2 separate regions of the Homo sapiens genome follow, and region 1 is linked to region 2. The links are contacts of gene promoters, found by promoter capture Hi-C in blood cells and fetal thymus (Javierre and others, 2016). All regions are on one chromosome and are shown on one strand. The core of a region is centred on a gene start or on the middle of the fragment in contact, and the rest is flanking DNA. Distances in the headings are between cores, read along the strand shown.

What was found. The method cuts DNA at HindIII sites, captures the fragments that hold promoters and counts their contacts. A CHiCAGO score of 5 or more calls a contact.
Region 1: a fragment that was not itself captured here is called in contact with the fragment with the promoter of PKP2 in region 2 in 2 of 17 cell types (megakaryocytes and M0 macrophages); the score reaches 5.5 in megakaryocytes.

Annotation. Positions count from the first base shown.
Region 1 is chr12:32,760,003-32,764,294 of GRCh38, forward strand. No RefSeq gene overlaps it. Among named protein-coding and RNA genes, the nearest start is that of YARS2, 6.3 kb to the left of the region's middle. The HindIII fragment of the contact is 1,074 bases long and covers 1,296-2,369 here.
Region 2 is chr12:32,893,690-32,898,036 of GRCh38, forward strand. It overlaps PKP2 (plakophilin 2), which reads right to left and starts at 3,088. Exons shown (of 13, transcript NM_001005242.3): 1 at 2,820-3,088. The coding sequence starts at 3,042. RefSeq lists silencers at 3,087-3,196, 3,397-3,496. The HindIII fragment of the contact is 4,432 bases long and covers 186-4,347 here.

The sequences.
Region 1 (4,292 bases), core at 583-3,082, 130 kb before region 2:
ATGGCTTTTCTTCCAGTTGAAGTATTTCCATGGCTTTTCTTCCAGTTGAAGTATTTCCATGACATTCCTATCTCCTATTACTTGGGAAGAATCATTTCTAAAGATTGATTTCATGTCTTTGTTGTCTTTGTATAATAATTTATAACTCAATCTGCCTCATAATTACATCTTCTCACACATGACTTTCATGTTGCTGTTTTTCTTGAAACCTACATCTAAAGTCCTAAAGATCCTCCCACTCTGCCCATCCTTACCTGCAAGGCAGTTGCTCCCCTTTCATTCCAAACTAATTTCTTTCAGGAAGCTCCTCTGCATTAGGTAGGGCGAAGGAAGGATGCTTTTACTGTCCAGGTTCATCATGCCCCTAAAATGTATTAAAATGTAAAATCAATAATGCTTACCCTTCCCACACAAAAAAATGGAAAGACCATTAAGTTCTATTAAAATTTATAGAAATTTATGTGAGCTAAGTGTCTTGAAACCTAGTCTGTGTCCCTTGATTGAAGTGGCTTTAATGCTTTTTGAGCTGATGGTCATATTAACATCCAAAAATTTTTTATAAGAGATTAGCTTATTTTAAGATGCTGATTGTAGGAGGATAATTAGACAAAGAAACATGTTACTAGATATGCATTTCCTTTCTATATTAGAGTTTAGAGAAGGATACCCCAAGTTTCTTTCTTTCTTTCTTTTAGGCTGCTGTTGTAGCCAGTGGAATAACCTGGAGGTCTCAGCATTGCCTTAACTTTATGCACCTGGTCCCATACCATATGGCTGGATAATGTTTTGAGATATTTATGGGTTTAAAAATCTTTCATTTTCCAGGCCGGGTGCGGTGGCTCACGCCTGTAATCCCAGCACTTTGGGAGGCCGAGGTGGGCAGATCACGAGGTCAGGAGTTCGAGACCAGCCTGGCCAACATAGTGAAAACCCGTCTCTTCCAAAAATACAAAAATTAGCCAGGTGTGGTGGCACACGCCTGTAGTCCCATCTACTCAGGAGGCTGAGGCGGGAGAGTCGCTTGAACCCGGAAGGCAGAGGTTGCAGTGAGCTGAGACCACGCCATTGCACTCCAGCCTGGGTGACAGAGTGAGACTCCGTCTCAAAAAAACAAAGAAATAAAAAATCTTTCATTTTCCTCTCTTCATTTTAACTGTCCATTTGTAGCAAGTTCTGTGTGTCAGTGCCTTGGGGAAAGTACAAGTCGGGGAGGAATACAGAGTCATCCTGGAACTCTTTGTAACTTTTGTTTCCAAAAGTCAAAAGCCTAAGATAGGATGAAGTTTAAGGAAATAAGCTTAGAGAAGAGAAAGAGGTAGGATTCTCCAGCTTAAAGAGAGTGCCCCTGCCCCAAACCTGGGCAAGGGAGCCCTGGCTATGGCCCTGGTTTGCCAGAGGAGCTGTGCATTGCTCCCTGGCCTCAAAGGGACGACCTCCTGCTACACTTCCAGCCTGGGGCTCCTGGCTTTGCCTAAGGTTCCTCTGCTTCATTTGAGGCAGGAGAGCCCCTGAGTGCCAGCTGGAGGTCTCAGAGAACCACTGAAGGCTTGGCCAACAAGGATGGCTAGAATGATCAGAACCAATTGGAAATTAGAGATATTATTTCCTGGGGCACGTTGATCAAATTTTGGTAAAACCCTAGAAGCGGGAAGGAGGCTAATAATGATGGAGAAACAATTTCCTACCATTCTAGTGGGTTAAGGACATAGATGTTTGCTTATTCATTTAACAGATATTTATTAGAATTATTTGATCAGTCAGGCACTGTTCTAATGGCTTAGGATATATTCATGGATGAAAGAAAGATTCCTGTCCTCATGGAGATAATATTATTCTATGAAGTTATTTTTCTCTGAGCAGTTTTATTCTTCACTTCCTCTTTCTTCATTTCCTCTTTCTGATTGGGCTCCTTTTCCACGCCCAATTTTTGGAGCAGAGAGAGAGTGACTCCTAGGTAGCTGTTGAAGAACATGCAGATTAGGAGGGGGCTGTGGGAGAGAAACATTTGTTGAGAATATGACCAAGGGAAAGACATCCCTTGTAGGAGGGTGGTGATTGAGGTGTAGAGTAGAATTCAAACAGCTTTTCCCCTTTCAATATGTAATTGTGTCTCCCTTCACTCCTGCTGCAGTGAATTTTTCTCCTCGCAGAACCCTTTCCCCAACATCCACCCCTTCTGCTCTGAGCTTGGTGATAGCCGCCGCAGTCCCCTACCAGCATGTTCTTTCCCAGGCCATGTTGTCGGGACTGTAATTCAGCCATGACTGGCAAGCAACGAATCCGCCTGGCTGTTTGCTAATGTGATGAGAAAAGCAGGCTTCCCTCTTAGAAAGAGGATCTTGGAGACACTATTGTGATTGCATCTGAAAAGCTTAGATCAAATGGATAATGTCTTCAGTGAAGATCATTTTGGAATTTTCCTATTTATCAAGTTACCTTAGTAATTTTCTGGTCTCTCTGACAGAGTAGAAGTGAATCAATCAACTCATCATTGTCCCTCCATCAAGGCCAAGTGAATTTATATCTCCATTGGAGAAGAAACAAAACAATAAGCAATCATTCTATGTTTTGTAGAGCAATTCTATTTTGATTAAAACTATTTTTGTCTTTTTTTCTCAGTGTCTTCAATACGGACTTTATGTTTTTCTGTTATAAGCACTGACTGGTTAGTTACCAAAATGAGAAATAAGTCTGGAAACATCTCACTCATTAATGTTCTGTAACATCATAAGGGGAACAAATACCTTGTATTTACATAATGTTTGCAGAAAAGTCAAATATTACTTCCTTCATCCTCACAACCATAACAAAATGTGCTTCTGAGTCGTGGTCCAAAGACCATGGGACTAGGAGTCACAGACATGAGTAGCTATCTCAGCTTAACCTTGACTACCTGTTCCTCCTTAGATAAGTCATTTAACACACTAGCCTTGGTGTCCTCATTTTAGAAGTAAATGGGCTGGGCTTGGCGCGGTGGCTCATGCCTGTAATCCCAGCATTTTGGGAGGCCGAGGCAGGCAAATCACGACGTGGTCAGGAGATCGAGACCATCCTGGCTAACACGGTGAAACCCTGTCTCTACTAACAATACAAAAAATTAGCCAGGCATGGTGGCCGGCACCTGTAGTCCCAGCTACTTGGGAGGCTGAGGCAGGAGAATCACTTGAACCTGGGAGGCAGAGATTGCAGCAAGCTGAGATCTCGCCACTGCACTCCAGCCTGAGCGACAGAGCAAGACTCCATTTCAGAAAAAAAAGAAAAGAAAAGAAAAAAAAAAGTAAATGGGCTGGATTAGATGAATTCTAAAATCTCATTCACCTCTACAATTCTGAAATGCCTGTTTGCTATCACAGTAGTCAAAAGTCCCATTTATTGTTTCTCAGCTTTAACTTCATTATTTAAGCCACCACACCAGGGAGGAGGTTAAAAATGTATTCATCGGCCAGGCACAGTGGCCCATGCCTGCAATCCCAGCACTTTGGGAGGCCAAGATGGCGGATCACTTGAGGTCAGGAGTTTGAGACCAGCCTGGCCAACATGGTGAAACCCTATCTCTACTAAAATACAAAAAATAATTAGCCGGGCATGGTGATGGGCGCCCATAATCTCAGCTACTTGAGAGGCTGAGGCAGGAGAATCCCTTGAACCTGGGAGGTGGACGTTGCAGTGAGCAGAGATCATGCCTCTGCACTCCAGCCTGGGTGACAAAGTGAGACTCCCTCTCAAAGAAAAAAACAAACAAACAAAAAAAAGCCTGGGCGCAGTGGCTCACGCCTGTAATCCCAGCACTTTGGGAGGCTGAGGCAGGCAGATCACTTGAGGTTGGGAGTTCGAGACCGCCTGACCAACATGGTGAAACCCCATCTCTACCAAAAAATACAAAAAATTAGCTGGGCATGGTGGCACACACCTGTAGTCCCAGCTACTTGGGAGGCTGAGGCAGGAGAATTGCTTGAACCCAGGAGGCGGAGGTTGCAGTGAGCCGACATCATGCCACTGCACTCCAGCCTGGTGACGGAACAAGACTCTATTACAAAATAAATAAATAAATACATCTATTTTCTCCTCTACTGAGGTTTGCTTAAGCAGTAGAAGCCAGTTTAAGTCATGCTTACATGGCTGTTATTAGAGGGAAACTGTATTATGACAAGTTTTGAAAAATTAAGATTGAAGATTTAGAAAGTGATAGTTGACCAATGAAACATATATCATATTTGCAGAAAGATCCAGTGAAAATCCAAGCAGCTTTGCTCAGATCCAAACAGTTTCAATTGCCATTGATCTCATTCAAA
Region 2 (4,347 bases), core at 1,838-4,337:
GTTGGAACAGCCAGTCAAGTAGTTGACCCAAGCATTATAGCAGAAGGACCAAGATAGTGCCCTTTGTTCTACCATATCAACTCTGTGAACTGTGAAATATTCATTCTGTTCCCTCCTAGAATGATCTTTCTCCAGTCACCTCCCTATGTCCAGTCCTACTGAATTTTTGAGATCTACCTCCAGGAAGCTTTTCAAAATTTCCTGCCACCAGGAGTAACTTACTTTTTTTTTTTTTTTTTTTTTTTTTGAGATGGCGTTTCGCTCTTGTTGCTCAGGCTGGAGTGCAATGGCGAGATCTCCGCTCACTGCAACTTCTACCTCCCGGGTTCAAGCGATTCTCCTGCCTCAGCCTTCCGAGTAGCTGAGTAGCTGGGATTACCGGCATGTGCCACCACGCCCGGCTAATTTTGTATTTTTAGTAGAGATGGGATTTTACCATGTTGGTCAGGCTGGTCTCAAACTCCCGACCTCAGGTGATCCTCCCGCCTCGGCCTCCCAAAGTGCTGCAATTACAGGCATGAGTCACTGCGCCCAGCCAATTTACACTTCTAAACTCCATAATATATTAGCCATTCTTTTGGGTCACTTACTACTTTTTATTTGGTAATGTATTTTTCTAGCGGTTGGCTTCCTTCTTCAAACTTTTTGCTTTAAAGCAAGCAGAGTCTTTGTGTTTAATTCAGCACCTGCACAGCGCCCGGCATGAAGAACATACTCATTTGATGCTTGCTGAATTCATCACACAGGTGATGCATTACTTTGTAGAAAGAACAGATTATGTGTGGAGTTGGGATTAAATTTCCAACCATTGCTGACAGACACATACTTCATATGTGAGATGGATTCTCATATCTATCTCAGCAATTGTTTCAAGAATATAATGAAGATTCTGGAATAGGCACATAGTAGATGCTCAGCAACATTCCCTTTTCTTCTGTTCATGGCTCCATTCCCTCCATTTATGGAAGAGTTGTATCTGCTTGCTCTCTTCCTAGCTGGCCATTCTCAGAGGATAAGAAAGAATATCTAATATGCCTCCTGTGTCTCCTACGCAGGGGAAGCTGATTTGGTTTCAGTTTAGCACTGGACCTATGGGCACAGAGAATGAATGGGTGTAATGGCTCCACTTTTCAAAGACTGGCCTCACTCATCCCGCAGTCTTTAGTCAGACCCCTAAGTCTAAATAAATATAAGGTCTTTCCCTCCATGTATTGCAGCAGTTCTGTGTTTTCTAGACCTCCCCAGCCTTTCAGAACTTCCTCAATTTTATTTAAAGAAAAATGGGAGGGGGCCACGGAGAGGCTTAGCATCTAACAAATCCCACTTTGTATTAATCATTTTAAAACTTAATGATAAAACTGATAAGTTTAAAATTCAGGTTTGGGAGTTTAAATACCAGCTCTGCCACTTACCATCTATTAGAGCTTCAGTGTTACTTAACTGCTTAGTTTCCTCATCTGTAAAATGAGGATGAAAATACCTAACTCACAAGTTTTTAAATACATATATATATATATATCTCAAATGAATGCAAACCACATCGCCCAATTCTTGGCACATAGTATGCACTCAGTTATATTAACTACGATCATTGAACATCTTCTCTTTACCTTTCAAGTATGTTAATATTGACTACGTCATCCTTTAGGATTCTTTTACACACACAGTACAGCCTCCCAGACTCTGCTGTTTGAAATCTCTGGTCTGGCCTGTTAGAATTTTTCTGTTTTCCTAATAGAAACTAGAATGGGTTAGCCTACATTCGCCAATGCCCAAGTTACTTCATACAGAAACAACTGAACGTTGCAGGAAACAGATATTCCAACTTAATTGCTCAATTTCTTTCCTCTTCTTTTTGCTATAAGCCAACATAGTGCTTTTATAATGCAAACTCACATACACAGCAACAAGAAGTAAAACAAGGGTCACTGAGTTGATCCCATCACCTGACTTCAGCAGGGGAGAAAAGGATACATCATGATCTCTAATTTTCACAAGTGGCTTGCCATCTTCTTTCCCTTCCACCTCCCCCGTCTATCAATCATGAACATAGTGTGCATGTGTGTGCTTACACCCCTTTCACCTTCGGGTTTAATTTTTTGGAGGGATCAGACTTGCATCACGCCCGCACTGGTGGGGGTAGGAAGCGCAGCTAGGCGGGCACGGCTGTTGCCGGCAGGGCCAAAGTCCCCTACCTCCTCCTCGGCGTGTTTGTTCCCTGGACCAAAGCCTCCTAACTACTTTTCTTCACTCCCTAGATCCACCACTCGCCTCCCACACAGGGTGGAGCGCCCCGAAGTACTTGCATAAGACAGCACAATCCCAATTTATAGGTTGTAGGAGCGCCAGTGCTGTCGGTTTTTTTCCCCAAGATATTTATGGGGGTCATTAATTATTTAACAAATCTAATAAAATTGAAGGGCTCCTTCTCCCAGAAAAAGATCGTACACACCAAAAATTCTGCATAGCATCTCAAGGTGTTTATAGACTCCCTGAACCTTCAAATTAAGTCCGCACCAGTGAGGGGCGCGGACCGGCGGAGTAGAAAAAGAAAGGGGTGAAATCTTGAAGTGAGTTAGTTAACATTGATAGATATGTACAATATTTAATATACATAGGTACCTATATGACAAAGCTGAGTAATAGGTTATGGAAAAGAGTGCTTTCCACAAGCAAGTCGGTCATACCGAAGACGGCGAGCAACAGGTGGGCAGAACACGGGGTCCCGCACTCCCAGCACGCGGGGTGAGGGCGGGATAGGAGGAGGTGACCGGGTGTGGGGCAGGGGGCGGCGCCGGGGAGCGGCGGGCTCCACTCACCGTTGCCCACGGAGCTGCGGCCCTTCCGGGCGAGGGTCTGCTGCACCTGCTCCTGGATCCGCAGGCTCTTGACTGTCTGGCCGCCGCGGCCGCTGCTCCCCGCCAGCTTCAGCTTGGCCTCGGAGGGCAGCGCCAGGCTGGAGCTGTCCAGTTGTCCCAGGATCTGCTGGCCCAGGACGGTCCGGATGTAGCCGTACTCAGCTGGGGCGCCGGGGGCTGCCATGGGGCCGGTGGGGGCGACCGAGCTGCTCGCCTGCCTCTGGACTCGCGGGCGAAGCCGCCACGGAGCTGGGGGCGCTGGCGCGAGCCCCGCCCCGCTCGAGTCCGGCCCCGCCCCTGGCCCGCCCCCCGCGCCGGTGAGAGGCCCGGGCCGGGGGGGAGCTCGGCCTCGTGGGCCGGACGCCCGGCCTTCCCTGAGGAGGGGGCGCGGCTCCGGCCGGGCACGCGCAGTCGGGCCCGGGGGCGGGGGCGGGGGCGGGCCGGACCCGCTGAGCGCGCGGACACCTGGAGACTTGTACCCGCCCGCGGGGAGGTGGGGAGAGGGGCGCGGTTCGCCTGGGGTCGCGCACGTTGTCGGAGTCCCAGCGGATACCGCCTGCCGGGGCCGCGCCCCGCTCTGCCCACGCCCCGCGCTGGACAGGATGGATTTCCGCTCGATGCAGGGAGGGGCTGCCCTGCAGGCAGGTGAGCCCTCGAGAGTCACTCCTGTTCTTGGACTGAGGCTTGCCTCCGGGATCCCCGAGCGAGTAGTATGTCTGGTTAGTCAGGCTTTGTCGCACTGTTGGAAACGTTTCCTGGTTTTCCTGGACCTGAGGGTGAGAAAGGGCTATTTGGTCAGGCGGAAAGGGCAATATGAGGGAAATGTGCCAAGAAGATAACGTGTGAAATAAAAGACTTTCTAAAGAGAGTGTTTTTTTTCTTAGTACAACGTCAGGACTATGTACTTTTTGCACAGATGCAGTCCCAGAAACATATGTTCTTCCTCATTGAGAGCTTCTGTTTTCTCTTGGATACACAAATTGTACCCAGTACTCTTGCTAACCCATTCCTCTCTTACGAACACACCCACACAGAGAAACTCCAACAAGAGGCTCTAGAGAAGAAATGAATTTTAATAGACGATGCTTTTTAAATAGCCCTGCTAACGTTGATTAAGTCCTCTTTATTACAGGCTCTTTGTAGAGAGATCCACGGAGAGGGCCTCCAACTTTCAATCGAATCTTCCACAACTTGTATTTATCGTGCTATTAATTATGTTTCACCGCAGTTGACTACTGAGAACTTGAGAGCTAAGCTCAACAGAAAGGATCCTTGACCTTAAAGTTTACAACCAAAGCCACTTGTCCTGATTTGCCTCTTTGGACTTAAGAGGCAGAAAGAAAAACATGTATCCCTGGTATTAAGATAATATTCCCTTTGATTGCTTGGGTTTGTATGTTCACTTTCCCTCAAATCACTCAATTGCTGCAAAACCCCACTTACTCAAGTCTGAAGTGTTTGGAGAACGCAGCTTCCCTCGTCTTTGTTT